Linked DNA regions of Homo sapiens: all the other regions are linked to region 2. Evidence: promoter capture Hi-C in 16 types of primary human blood cells and fetal thymus (Javierre and others, 2016). All regions are on one chromosome and are shown on one strand. The core of a region is centred on a gene start or on the middle of the fragment in contact, and the rest is flanking DNA. Distances in the headings are between cores, read along the strand shown. Region 1 overlaps CHD9 (chromodomain helicase DNA binding protein 9). Region 2 holds the start of RPGRIP1L (RPGRIP1 like). Region 3 overlaps CHD9 (chromodomain helicase DNA binding protein 9).

Region 1 (3,662 bases), core at 811-3,310, 570 kb after region 2:
GAAAAATACAGATTAGGCCAGGCACGGTGGCTCACACCTGTAATCCCAACACTTTGGGAGGCCGAGGCGGGCAGGTCAGGAGGTCAAGAGATCGAGACCATCCTGGCCAACATGGTGAAACCCCGTCTCTACTAAAAATACAAAAATTAGCTGGGCGTGGTGGCAGGTGCTTGTAAGCCCAGCTACTTGGGAGGCTAAGGCAGGAGAATCACTTGAACCTGGGAAGTGGAGGTTGCAGTGAGCCGAGATTGCACCACTGCACTCCAGCCTGGCGACAGAGCAAGACTCTGTCTCAAAAAAAAAAAGAAAAACACAGATTAGTCTCACAAAAATAATGTTACTCGAGGAACACTTATTATATGATTTCATTTAATAAAGTTCAAAAATAGGCAGACCTAATCTATGGTTTTTAGACATCAAGATAATGGTCACCCTATTATCTTGGGAATACAGAATACAGAAAGGGAATAACTAGAAAAGAATATAAGGAAAGCTTTCAGGGTGCCAATAACAATACTGATTTCAATAAACACTCACCAAAGCAGAATAAGTGTGTTCATATATTGGAATATGTAGTGAATTCACTAAATTATGAAACCCATGAAATAAAGCATTCCCTAATATTAGAAACCCCGGGCAACTCAGTTTCTCTGTACCTCCGTTGCTTCAACTGTAAAACAGACTACACCAAGTCTGTAATCTTAAATTCCTAGATTTTTTTTTTTTTTTTAGGAAAAGGTACTCAGTTCCTTAAATGGAAGAAAAAAATTTTAGTGACTATTTGATTGCCATTTTAAAGATAAACATTGCAAAGACAGAATCAAAAAATATCATTTTTTCCTTCCTCTTACAAAGGAACAAGATACATCAGCAGTTATCTTTCAGAACCATAGTTACTGATTTCCAATAGAATAAAATTGAATATTCTTTATACTGCTACTGATTAGTAAGTAAACTAATATGAAAAGACCACTAGACAAGAAAGGTCATCTTTTTTCTGGTTTCAAACTATGTCCCTTTATAGCAATAACAATGTTTAAAATTACTAGTTTTAAAATGTTTTGAAATATAGTAAAAATCAAACAAAAACCAAACTTAATATTTGCTTGGTTAACTTCATAATGCCAAATTGTAACAGAAACATCAGTATCTGACAGCTATTTTAGAAATAATAGCTAGTAATGACTGAACTATAACTTCTACTTATAAGCACCATTAAATGAGAAGCCTCATTAAAAATTATAAATTATCAGGCTCCCTTACAAGCTAATAACTGAAAAGAATGCTACTCTCCTGAGAATATCAAGATTATAAAACTTTTGTATTCTGCACCATCACCCAATACTATATATATCCATTCAATATTATATTGATTTATTTCTCTCAAATTTTCATATTTAATATAATCCATTATGAAAATATTCAAATAAACTTTCAAAAACTGAAGTGCATTGTTAAAAAAGATCATTTCACCAGTTTTTCTAACATAAATATGAAGCTTGCTTCTTCCTCTCAAATAACACAATATGAATATGTCATTGTATGGTATCACACTTCTAGCTAAACCTATTCTAAGGCGCTTATCATTCAGATAAAGGTAGACTTCTTCTGAAGCACTTGTCCAGGGATGGTGTTCAAAACTTGTTTTCTTGCCAAATCTTTCCTTTCCCTCATCTTCTTCATCTCAGTAAATCACACACCACTATCTATCTAGTTTCTCAAGCCAGGAACCAGGAAATCATTTTTGACACTTTTCTTCTCACATCCAATCCATCATGAATCTGTCAGTTGTTCCTCCTCCACACCTCACCATCTCCTCTCTAAAATATATGTATAATCTGGCTACCATCATGTTTTTCCTGGACTACTGTAGTATTACAATATCTTTACTTTCACCCTTGCCTTTCTCCAATCCATTCTCAAAGTAGCATTTTTAAAATGTAGATTAAAGCGTATCACTTCTCTAATTCAAAATCTTCAACGACTGCAATGTCTTTAGTAAAACCTGTAAGTCTTTAATATGCCCCACAAGGCCCTGTATAATCTGCTTTCTATCTCTCATTTCAGCTCATATGGTTTTCTGCCTTATTATGCTTCTGCCATCCTGAACTTTTCATTTCTTTCAAATATTAAGTTCTTTCCTGTGTCATAGCCTTCAAACATATTTTTCTCTCTTCCAAGAAACTCTTTTCTCTCCTGACCTGTCTTCTTATTCTGTTTCCACTTAGAATCACCAACTGAGGGAAGCCTTCTCTGAGAATACAACATTAATTTCTCCCCATTTTCTCCACCATAGCACTCTGTTCTTTTATTTCACTGAACTGATCATAAGTTGTAATTTTCCATTTGTTTATTTACTTGTTCTTTATCTGTTTGCACTGTTAGATGGTAGGTTCCATGAAGGCAGGGATCACTTATTATGCACTTAATACATATATCATAAATTAAGGGAGCACTTCATAATATATACATTTAATGAATAAATGGATGTGAATGACTTTGAGTCCAGAGAATAAATTACAGTTCAAAGTGGTTTCCCCTTCTTTGGGTCTCCCATTGTCACTTGATCAGCTTTCCAACTGTTTCTAAAAGAAAGGAATAAAAATTGTTTCTGAAAGCTTAAAGACAATACAGTAGAGGAAATGTCAGGAAGTTGTACATGGTATGCCAAATAAGTGCAACAAATAATTATACTAAGATCTCATGGGAAGGAGAAATCCCTAAGGGCTACAAGGACAAGATACGATTTTATTCACAAGGTGGAATTTGACCTGAGTATTCACAGACTGGTAAAATTCCAAGAGGTGGAAAAGTAAGGGAGTGAAGCCCAAATAAGGAAGTAAACAGAGGCACAAAGTGCTAGGGAACAGTTATAAAACTGGAATGTGGCACTTTAAATTTACAACGTAAATAAGTGTAAAAAAGCTAAATCTTATATAAGAAATCTATATCCCACGTTAAGACAACTTCAAAGAATTTGAAAGGTTAAAATAACTCTATCTCATCAGTATCCATAAATCTCTTCTGACTCCAATCTTTGGCTTCTGAAGTTTTCCAAGCACTTACAACATGCTTCCATTAGTTTTTACTCTGACCAACTGCCTCAAGTTTCCATATTCTTACCTGTGTTTTTTATTCACTCATTACCCGATGAAATTTCCCCAGTAGATTAATTCATAGTTTTTCTTTATAGACTCTCTAGGATTTCATTTTTCTTCTCTGTTATTTACGGAGGTAAGCTTTTTTTTCTATGACATTTCGATCAATAAACACATCTTTAGAAAATCTTAACTTTTCATATGTACCAAAATTTTGTTTTACTATTGATAGATGCAATAGATTTTACTTTAAAATCTGTATTTCTACTTCAGTTCTTGCCTCTTATATTCATATATCGAGCCCCTCCTTCAGCTCTATCCTGTTTCCAGAGGTAAACCAGGAAGGTCTAGCACAGTGCCTTGTAGAAAGCATTCGGTTGCATTAGATAAGAAGTTTGTAATTAAAGTTTCTAAAGATACTTCCAAGTTGAAAATTCTATGGTTTCCTTAATCTTATCTTGTCACGGGCTTTTTCCATGGACACCGTTTTCTATCTGTATTCATATCTGCCCACCCCATAAGTTTTTGATTTCAGAGGATAGACCTCATAGGGTACTTAGAATC
Region 2 (3,777 bases), core at 134-2,633:
AGAGTAAGGAGAAAGGAAAGGGACATAATTATATTTGCATTTCACGAAGATCTTACTCTATGGTGTGCAGAAGAGAATGGTAGTTGAGGGAAGGGAGAGAAGGTGGAAGAAGAGTTAAGTTAGGGTGTAGAGTGAGTGTAGGCCAATCAATAGGCTATTCCAACAGTCTATTAAAAAGATAATGGTAGCTTGGTCCAAGGTAGTGGAGATGAAAAAAAAAAAAAGTGGGCATATTCCCAATATACGTAGACAAATCAACAGGATCTGAGTTTGGGAATGAGAGAAAGGAAAACACTCAATGCTTCTGAGCCTCAGTTCTTCATCTGTGAAGCTGGGCTGTTATTTATACTCCATCTGTATAATATCTATCTTGCAATCTGCTGTGACAATGATATGAAATAATTTAAATATTATGCACTTAATACAGTGCCTGACCCACAATAAATGCTTTTTAAAATCTCTGTTGCCATTATTATGGTCATCCCATGGAATGGCAACTACCAGAAGCTGAACATCAAAGGTAGAGAGGAGCAATGTAGTTAAAGATTCATATCCACAGCGCTAAAAGACACAAACTGTTATCAGCCGGTCACGGAGACAATTGTTCCAAAGAAACACAGCTGACTGCACAGATATTTCATCTAAGCCGATCTCAGTCCTCAGAGACCATTATGAGAAAGCACAGCTGGTATGATCACAGTCATCTGAGAATCCGGTAAACTGAGGCACAGGGATGGCGACAAATTTAACCAAGGAATAGATGCAGAAGAAGGACAAGGAAATGGGTATCTTGCTTCTCATTTTTGAGCCGATCCAACAAGACTCGGCCTGCATCCTGAAGAGCACGAATTTGTAACATCCCCTCTAATATCTCCAGGTCCCTTGCTGACAAGGCCCTGTCATCCCTTAGTTTAACACCGCGCATCCGCTCGCCATCAAACCAAGCCCTTCCGGTTCCCTGATCCTTGCTCACAGCGCACGAAGATCTCCAGGCCCCGGGAGCCCGACATACCTTAGCTTCGCGCTCTCGTTCCTCGGCAGTCGGGGTGCGCTTCATGCTGCCACTAAAGCCGCCTTCGCCACCGCAAGCTGCGTAGATCCCTCGCCCTGGACCCCGCCTCCTGCATGTAGTTCTCTCAGCGTCCTGCTCCCGTCTGGAGCTATTCTCCCTCTGAGTAGAAAAAACTACAACTCCCAGGATGCACCGCGGCGACACCCGCGAGCGCCACGGGATTTAGCACAGGAGAATTTCCCAGGTCCGACAGCTGGAAGAGCGTAGTCCGCTACCCCGCGAGCAAACAGGCTAGAGTCCAAGGAGAACTACATTTCCCAGGAGGCTACGGGAGCCTGCCATGTTTCTCCCGTGCTCCTCTCGGCCAGCCGCCCGCCACGCTGTCGGCGCTATAGCAACGGTAGCTAGCTGCAGGGCCAGTGGCACGGTGAGTACCCGGGAGGATGGGGGAGGATGAGGGTGGGTGGAGGTTGCTGACCCTCCCCACTGCAGCGCGGGCCGGGGTCCTAGGGTCCGCTCTGCCGCCTGGAGAAGGCCCTGGAGTTGGCCCTGGAGTTCTGCTGGCGTGAAAGCAGCCCAGCCCAAGACACCTCCACATCCTCAGGCCTGAATCACAGGCCGCCCTTTATCCCCACGTCCAGGACCAATTTGAAATGTTATATCCCAGCCATGAAGGTGAGAGTTGATGCTGCTAATTGCCATCTCTATCCAGATCCTGCAAGTTGTAGGTCCCTAACACAGTTTGCTCATTTGCCCTGGATTAGGAGTTGGTTGGTAGACCCTAAACCTCCTGAGTGGTCTATTGTTTGCTTAATTATATATTATTTGTTTATCATGTGATTACCTCCATAACTTGCTAGCTTCATAAAGGCGGGGGTTTTGCTTGCCATTTTAATCTCAGTACCTGATATTCATTTATTCATTCAATAAATATTTTTTCTTTATTCTTTTTTTTGTGTGTGTGACAGGTTCTTGCTCCGTTGCCCAGGCTGGAGTGCAGTGGTAAGACCTCAGCTTACTGCAAACTCCTCCTCCCAGGTTCAAGCGATTCTTCTGCCTCAGCCTCCCGAGTAGCTGGGATTACAGGCGTGTGCCACCACACCCAGCTAATTTTTGTATTTTTAGTAGAGACAGGGTTTCATCATGTTGGCCAGGCTGGTCTCGAACTCCTGGCCTGAAGTCAGCCGCCCGTCTCGGCCTCGCAAAGTGCTGGGATTACAGGTGTGAGCCACCACGCACAGCCAATCATTCAATAAATATTAATGTTGGTTCCCACCCTGTACCAGGCACTGTTCCTGAACAGTTGTGAACAAGACTAATACCCGTCTCAAGATGTTTATCCTTTTTTAGTGGAGACAAACAATAATTTTATCTGATAACTTCAGATAGAGGCAGTTGCTATAAGAGATACAAGCCATGCTTGGTGGCACGCACATGTAGTTCCAGCTACTCGGGAGGCTGAGGTGGGAGGATCACTTGAACCCATGAATTCAAGGCCAGCCCGGGCAACATAGCAAGACCCTGTCTCAAAAAAAAAAAAAAGAAAAGAAAAGAAATAAACAGTGAAGAAATGTAAGGAAGACTACTCTAACATAGGATGGTCAGGGAAAACCTGTCTGAGGAAGTGAACTGAGCTCCAAAGATTAAGGAACCAGCTAATACAAAGGCCTTGAGCAAGACAAGGGTATGGGGGGTTCGAGGAAAGTAAAGAATAATGTAAGTGAAGCATAGTGAGCAAAGAAGGATAACATAAGATGGTGTTGGAGAGGCATTGCAGCATTGTGCAGGGTTTTTCAGCTTCTACACTATTATTAACATTTTGGGCTGGATAATTCATTATTATGTCTCCTAAGCACTGTAAGATATTTAGCATCATCCATGGCCTCTACTCACTAGATGCCAGTAGCATCCCGCTTCCTTGTTGTGACAACCAAAAATATCACCAGACACAACTATTAATACTTTCAACTACCACCTTAAGTGAGTTAACTAATCTGTGTCTCAGCTTCCTCATTTGTAAAGCAGGAATCATTTGAGTAACAGCCTCACAAGGATATGGTGAGACACTTCATTCCTATAACAGAACACTTAGAACAGTACCTGGCACATAGTAAGCGTTCAATGAATGTTAACACCATCATCATCATCATCATCATTATTATTTTTAAAGTGACCTTAACTCTGTCATGGAAAACTAATCATTTTCATACACGGGCCTATGTGTCAACAGGATCCTAAAAATTGACCTTTTCTATAGGAGTACTTCCAAAAGAAGTAGATGATCTCCCAAGGATTTGTCTGTTAGCTGTTTCTGTAAAAGCAAAATGCAATGGTTCTCCACCATTTGCGAGTTGTAATAAAAGTTATGAACCCTCTTTAAAAGATATTGCATATATACATATACATACAAAATTTGGTAAACCATCTCTGGGTTCACAGACCCTGAAACCCCATGGACTCCATTCACTCACTCAACAACTATTTAATGAATGCCTGCTCTCAGAATGCACCACGCTCTATGCTAGCCTCCAAGAATACAGAGCTGAACAAGACAATGAAGCTTGCTACTGTCTTGGTCTTTACATTCTAGAACCAATATCCTAGAGCTTAAGAACTCTGCCCTTTAGAGTATCTTCATTCACAGTTTGCATGTAGCTTACTAGGTAGATTGAAATGAAAATATAAAATCCTTTATTTTTGCATACTAGATATTGTGTGGACCACTCACATCCATACTCAAAATAGAGTTACTATGGTGTATTTCT
Region 3 (4,048 bases), core at 481-2,980, 640 kb after region 2:
CAGTGGCATGATCATGGCTCATTGCAACCTCAAACTCCTCAGCTCAATTGATTCGCTTACCTCAGCCTCCTGAGTAGCTGGGACTACAGGTGCACCACCACACCTGGCTAATTTTTCATTTTTTTGTAGATATGGGGTCTTGCTATGTTGCCCAGGCTGGTCTGGAACTTCTAGACTCAAGTAATCCTCCCACCTCAGCCCCCCAAAGTTCTGGAATTACAGGTGTGAGCCACCAATCCAGGCCCCAGCTAATTTTTAAAATTTTTAAAATAGAAATGAGGTCTCACTATGTTGCCCAGGCTGACCTTGAACTCCTGGCCTCAAGCAATCCTCCTGCCTCAGCTTCACAAAGTGCTGGGGCTACAGGCATGAGCCACTGCACCCAACCTACCTAGTATCCTTCTGATCCTCAGGTCTCATTATTCGGGATCAGGAGTCAGCAAACTACAGCCCACAGGCCACATCCAGCCTACTGCCTGTTTTTGTATAGCCTGTGAGCTAAGAATGGTTTTTACATTATTTATTTGTTTGTTTGTTTGTAGAGATGGGGGTCTTGCTATGTTGCCCAGGCTGGTCTTGAACTCCTGGCCCCAAGCAATCCTCCCTCCTTGGTCTTCCAAAGTCCTGGGATCACAGATATGAGCCACCATGCCTGGCCAGCTTTTACATTTTTAAATGGTTGAAAAAAATGTTTAAAGAATAATATTTTGTGACACAGAAAAATTATGTGAAATTCAAAACTTCAGTGTCCATAAAGCTTTATTGGAACCCAGATATACTCATTTGTTTACATACCATCTACGGCTGCTTTTACTCTACAGTGGCAGTTTCTCATCAACATTACAAGAAACGACGTTACTTGGACTTACTGTACGTCATTTCGCTTAAAGTTGCAGTTTCTAAGAACCTAACGAGGACATTAATTGAGAATTTACTGCAGTTGCAACTGAAACCCTATGGTCCATAAAGCTCAAAATATTTACTCTCTGGACCTTTACAGAAAAAGTTTGCTGATGCCTGTTCACGGTCATTATCCTGCAGAGACAAGAGGCAGATTGAGGCCTGGCTGCCCCATGAGTGGGGAGGCCGATGCCCAGACCTAGTATTTGGGGGCAGTTTGAATCAGAACCTCACATTTCCTTTTGCCACATCTTTATGACCATGGTCATTACTCCCACCCTCTGCAAGTACCTAAGACTCTTTCACAGAGGAATTCATGTCTTTATACCAGTAATATTTTTTGACTAAATTTTTTTTCCATTTTTCTTGTTGTTAAAGATAGAGGTGGGGGTCTCACTATGTTGCCCAGGCTAGTCTTGAACTCTTGGCCTCAAGCATTCCTCCCACTTCTGCTTCCCAAAGTGCTGGGATTACAGGCATATGCCACTGTGCCCAGCCACCAGAAATATTTTTCTTTTTTAAAGGACATGAGAAATTTTCTTCTCCACACCCTGCCACTATCCCACGTGGTTTCATCGACGCTTGATCACTTTCACCACCACTTAGTTACTGATTTCTCCCCAGAACAAACCAAACCTCCAGCCCACGTCCTGAGATTTCTGATCAATACCCAAATGTTGGCCAGGTAAGGTAGATCATGCTTGTAATCTCAGTGCTTTGAGAGGCCAAGGCAGGAGAAACACTTGAGTCTAGGAGTTGGAGACCAGCCTAGGCAACACAGTAAGACCCTACTTAAAAAATTAGCTGGGCATGATGGTGTGCACCTGTAGCCCCAGCTACTTGGCTGGGTGGGAGGATCCCTCGAGCTCAGGAGGTTGAGGCTGCAGTAGCTATGATCATACCACTACAGGAGGCATGGGTGACAGAGCAAGACCCTGTGTCTTAAAAACAACAACAAAAGAAACCAAAAACCAACAAAACAAAACAAAACAAAAAACCCAAATGTCTGGTCAACATTAGATTAAGTTGGAGGGTGGGGGGTGTTGCTGCTTACCAGCAGTGCAACTTTGGGCAAGTCATTTAACAGCATGGAACGTCAATTTCATCATCTCTCAAAGGCGGAAATGATCCTGTCCAACCTGCCAGGATTACCGTGCTAATCGGATGAAATGAGAGCTGCCCACAAGACACTGAGCCGCCTGGCCCCAGCCTCTCTCCCTTTCACCACCACACTCCCTGCCCACTGGCTCTCCTTGAGTCCCCTGGCCTTGCCAAGCTCTTGGCTATCTCTGTACATGCTGACCTTTCTGCCAGAAACATCTTTTTCTAACCCCACCTTCTGCCTGGCAGATCAATGCATAACCTTTGTTTATGTGTGTTTCTGTTTAAAGATACCTTATAGGCCAGGTGCTGTGGCTTGAGCCTGTAATCCTAGCACTTTGGAGGCCAAAGTGGGTGATCACCTGAGGTCGGGAGCTCGAGACCAGCCTGGGCAACATGGTGAAACCTCGTCTCTACTAAAAATACAAAAATTAGCTGGGCGTGGTGGCATGTGCCTGTAGTACCAGCTACATGGGAGGCTGAGGCAGGAGAATCGCTTGAACTCCAGAGGTGGAGACTGCAGTGAGCTGACATCGTGCCACTGCACTCCAGCCTGGGAGACAGAGTGAGACTCCATCTCAAAAAAACAAAAACAAAGACAAAAGACACCTTATTTGATATATATTGTTGATATATATACATATTATTCATTAACACTGAACTCAGCCAACTGCACTATAACTCATGCCTGAACGAAGCTTACCTAACAGACAAGCTTTCTCTGTAAGGCACATCGCAGCCTTCTCATACTTAGGAACACTAGACAGCACGTCAACTGTACACTTGGGGCCATTTCAAACAGCGACATCACAAACAAAAACACACAAACATGCAAAAAATGTGGCACTAAGTACACCACAAAAGGGACACTTGTTTATAGCACAAGAGCTGAAACCAGAAAGCAGCGTGTCCTCCTGTTTGCCCTTGGCTGGAAATGTGCACGTTGGGTGACTCAACTTTTTCACTATTCTACGTGCATCCATATATGACTGTGAAAGTGTCATGGATATTGATTTGGAAGTTACGCAGACATTATTTTTCTTTTTTCTTTCTTTTTTTTTTTTGAGATGGAGTTTCGCTGTTGTTGCCCAGGCTGGAGTACAATGGCGTGATCTTGGCTCACTGCAACTTCCACCTCCCAGGTTCAAGCAATTCTCCTGCCTCAGCCTCCCAAGCAGCTGGGATTACGGGCTCTTGCCACCACGCCCAGCTAATTTTTTGAATTTTTAGTAGAGACGGGGTTTTGCCATGTTGGCCAGGCTGGTCTCGAACTCTTGACCTCAGGTATCCACCCACCTCGGCCTCCCAAAGTGCTGGGATTACAGGCATGAGCCACTGCACCCGGCCTTTTTTCCTCTTTTTTTTTTTAAATGAGCCAAGGTCTCTCTATGCTGTCCAGGCTGGTCTCAAACTCCTTAGCTCAAGTGATTAGGCTGGTGTCAAACTCCTAAATTCAAACTCCTAACCTCACACCTCAGTCTCCCAAAGTGCTGGGATTACAGGTGTGAGCCACCACACCCGGCCACAAACATATTTTTTTAAAAATTCTTTAATTATATAATTTTTAAAATAAAGATATAGGGTCTTACTGTGTTACCCAGGCTGATCTGGAACTCCTAGCCTCAAGTAATCTTTCTGCCTCAGCTTCCCAAAGTACTGGGATTATATGCATGAGCCACCATGCCTGGCCACAAACAAATTTTTTTTAAGAATTATTCAATGTGTATAATTTTTAAGCAAACAGGGCCTTGCTCTGTTGCACAGGCTGATCTGAAACTCCTAGCCTCAAGCGATCCTCCTGCCTCAGCCTCTCAAAGTGCTGGGATTACAGGGAAGAATTTGCAAATTTAGAACTTGTGAATAATGAGAATCTACTGCACTTTCTTCCTGTTTCTCTCATTCGGGGCTGGCTGAATTCTGTCTTACTCATATTTTATCTCTAGCATCTGGAAAACTGCCTGGCCCACAGTAGGCTCTCAATAATAAATGTATTTCCAATGAGCGAATGAGTCAATTCAGTGGAAGTGCTCAGCTCACAGCAGTGATA

Evidence for each region. The method cuts DNA at HindIII sites, captures the fragments that hold promoters and counts their contacts. A CHiCAGO score of 5 or more calls a contact.
Region 1: a contact is called between a fragment that was not itself captured here and the fragment with the promoter of RPGRIP1L in region 2, in 5 of 17 cell types (activated CD4 T cells, naive CD8 T cells, total CD8 T cells and 2 more). The highest score is 8.3, in activated CD4 T cells.
Region 3: a contact is called between a fragment that was not itself captured here and the fragment with the promoter of RPGRIP1L in region 2, in 4 of 17 cell types (total CD4 T cells, total CD8 T cells, naive CD8 T cells and 1 more). The highest score is 6.8, in total CD4 T cells.

The regions. Positions count from the first base shown.
Region 1 is chr16:53,133,625-53,137,286 of GRCh38, reverse strand. The region is part of intron 1 of CHD9 (chromodomain helicase DNA binding protein 9); the gene reads right to left. Among named protein-coding and RNA genes, the nearest start is that of CHD9, 80 kb to the right of the region's middle. The HindIII fragment of the contact is 1,120 bases long and covers 1,501-2,620 here.
Region 2 is chr16:53,701,465-53,705,241 of GRCh38, reverse strand. It overlaps RPGRIP1L (RPGRIP1 like), which reads left to right and starts at 1,383. Exons shown (of 27, transcript NM_015272.5): 1 at 1,383-1,439. FTO (FTO alpha-ketoglutarate dependent dioxygenase) reads right to left here and starts at 1,086. Exons shown (of 9, transcript NM_001080432.3): 1 at 1,013-1,086. The coding sequence starts at 1,057. RefSeq lists enhancers at 864-1,273, 888-1,388 and a silencer at 1,424-1,473. The HindIII fragment of the contact is 16,527 bases long and covers 1-3,574 here.
Region 3 is chr16:53,056,672-53,060,719 of GRCh38, reverse strand. The region is part of intron 1 of CHD9 (chromodomain helicase DNA binding protein 9); the gene reads right to left. Among named protein-coding and RNA genes, the nearest start is that of CHD9, 3.7 kb to the right of the region's middle. RefSeq lists a silencer at 1-95 and an enhancer at 2,642-2,691. The HindIII fragment of the contact is 1,942 bases long and covers 760-2,701 here.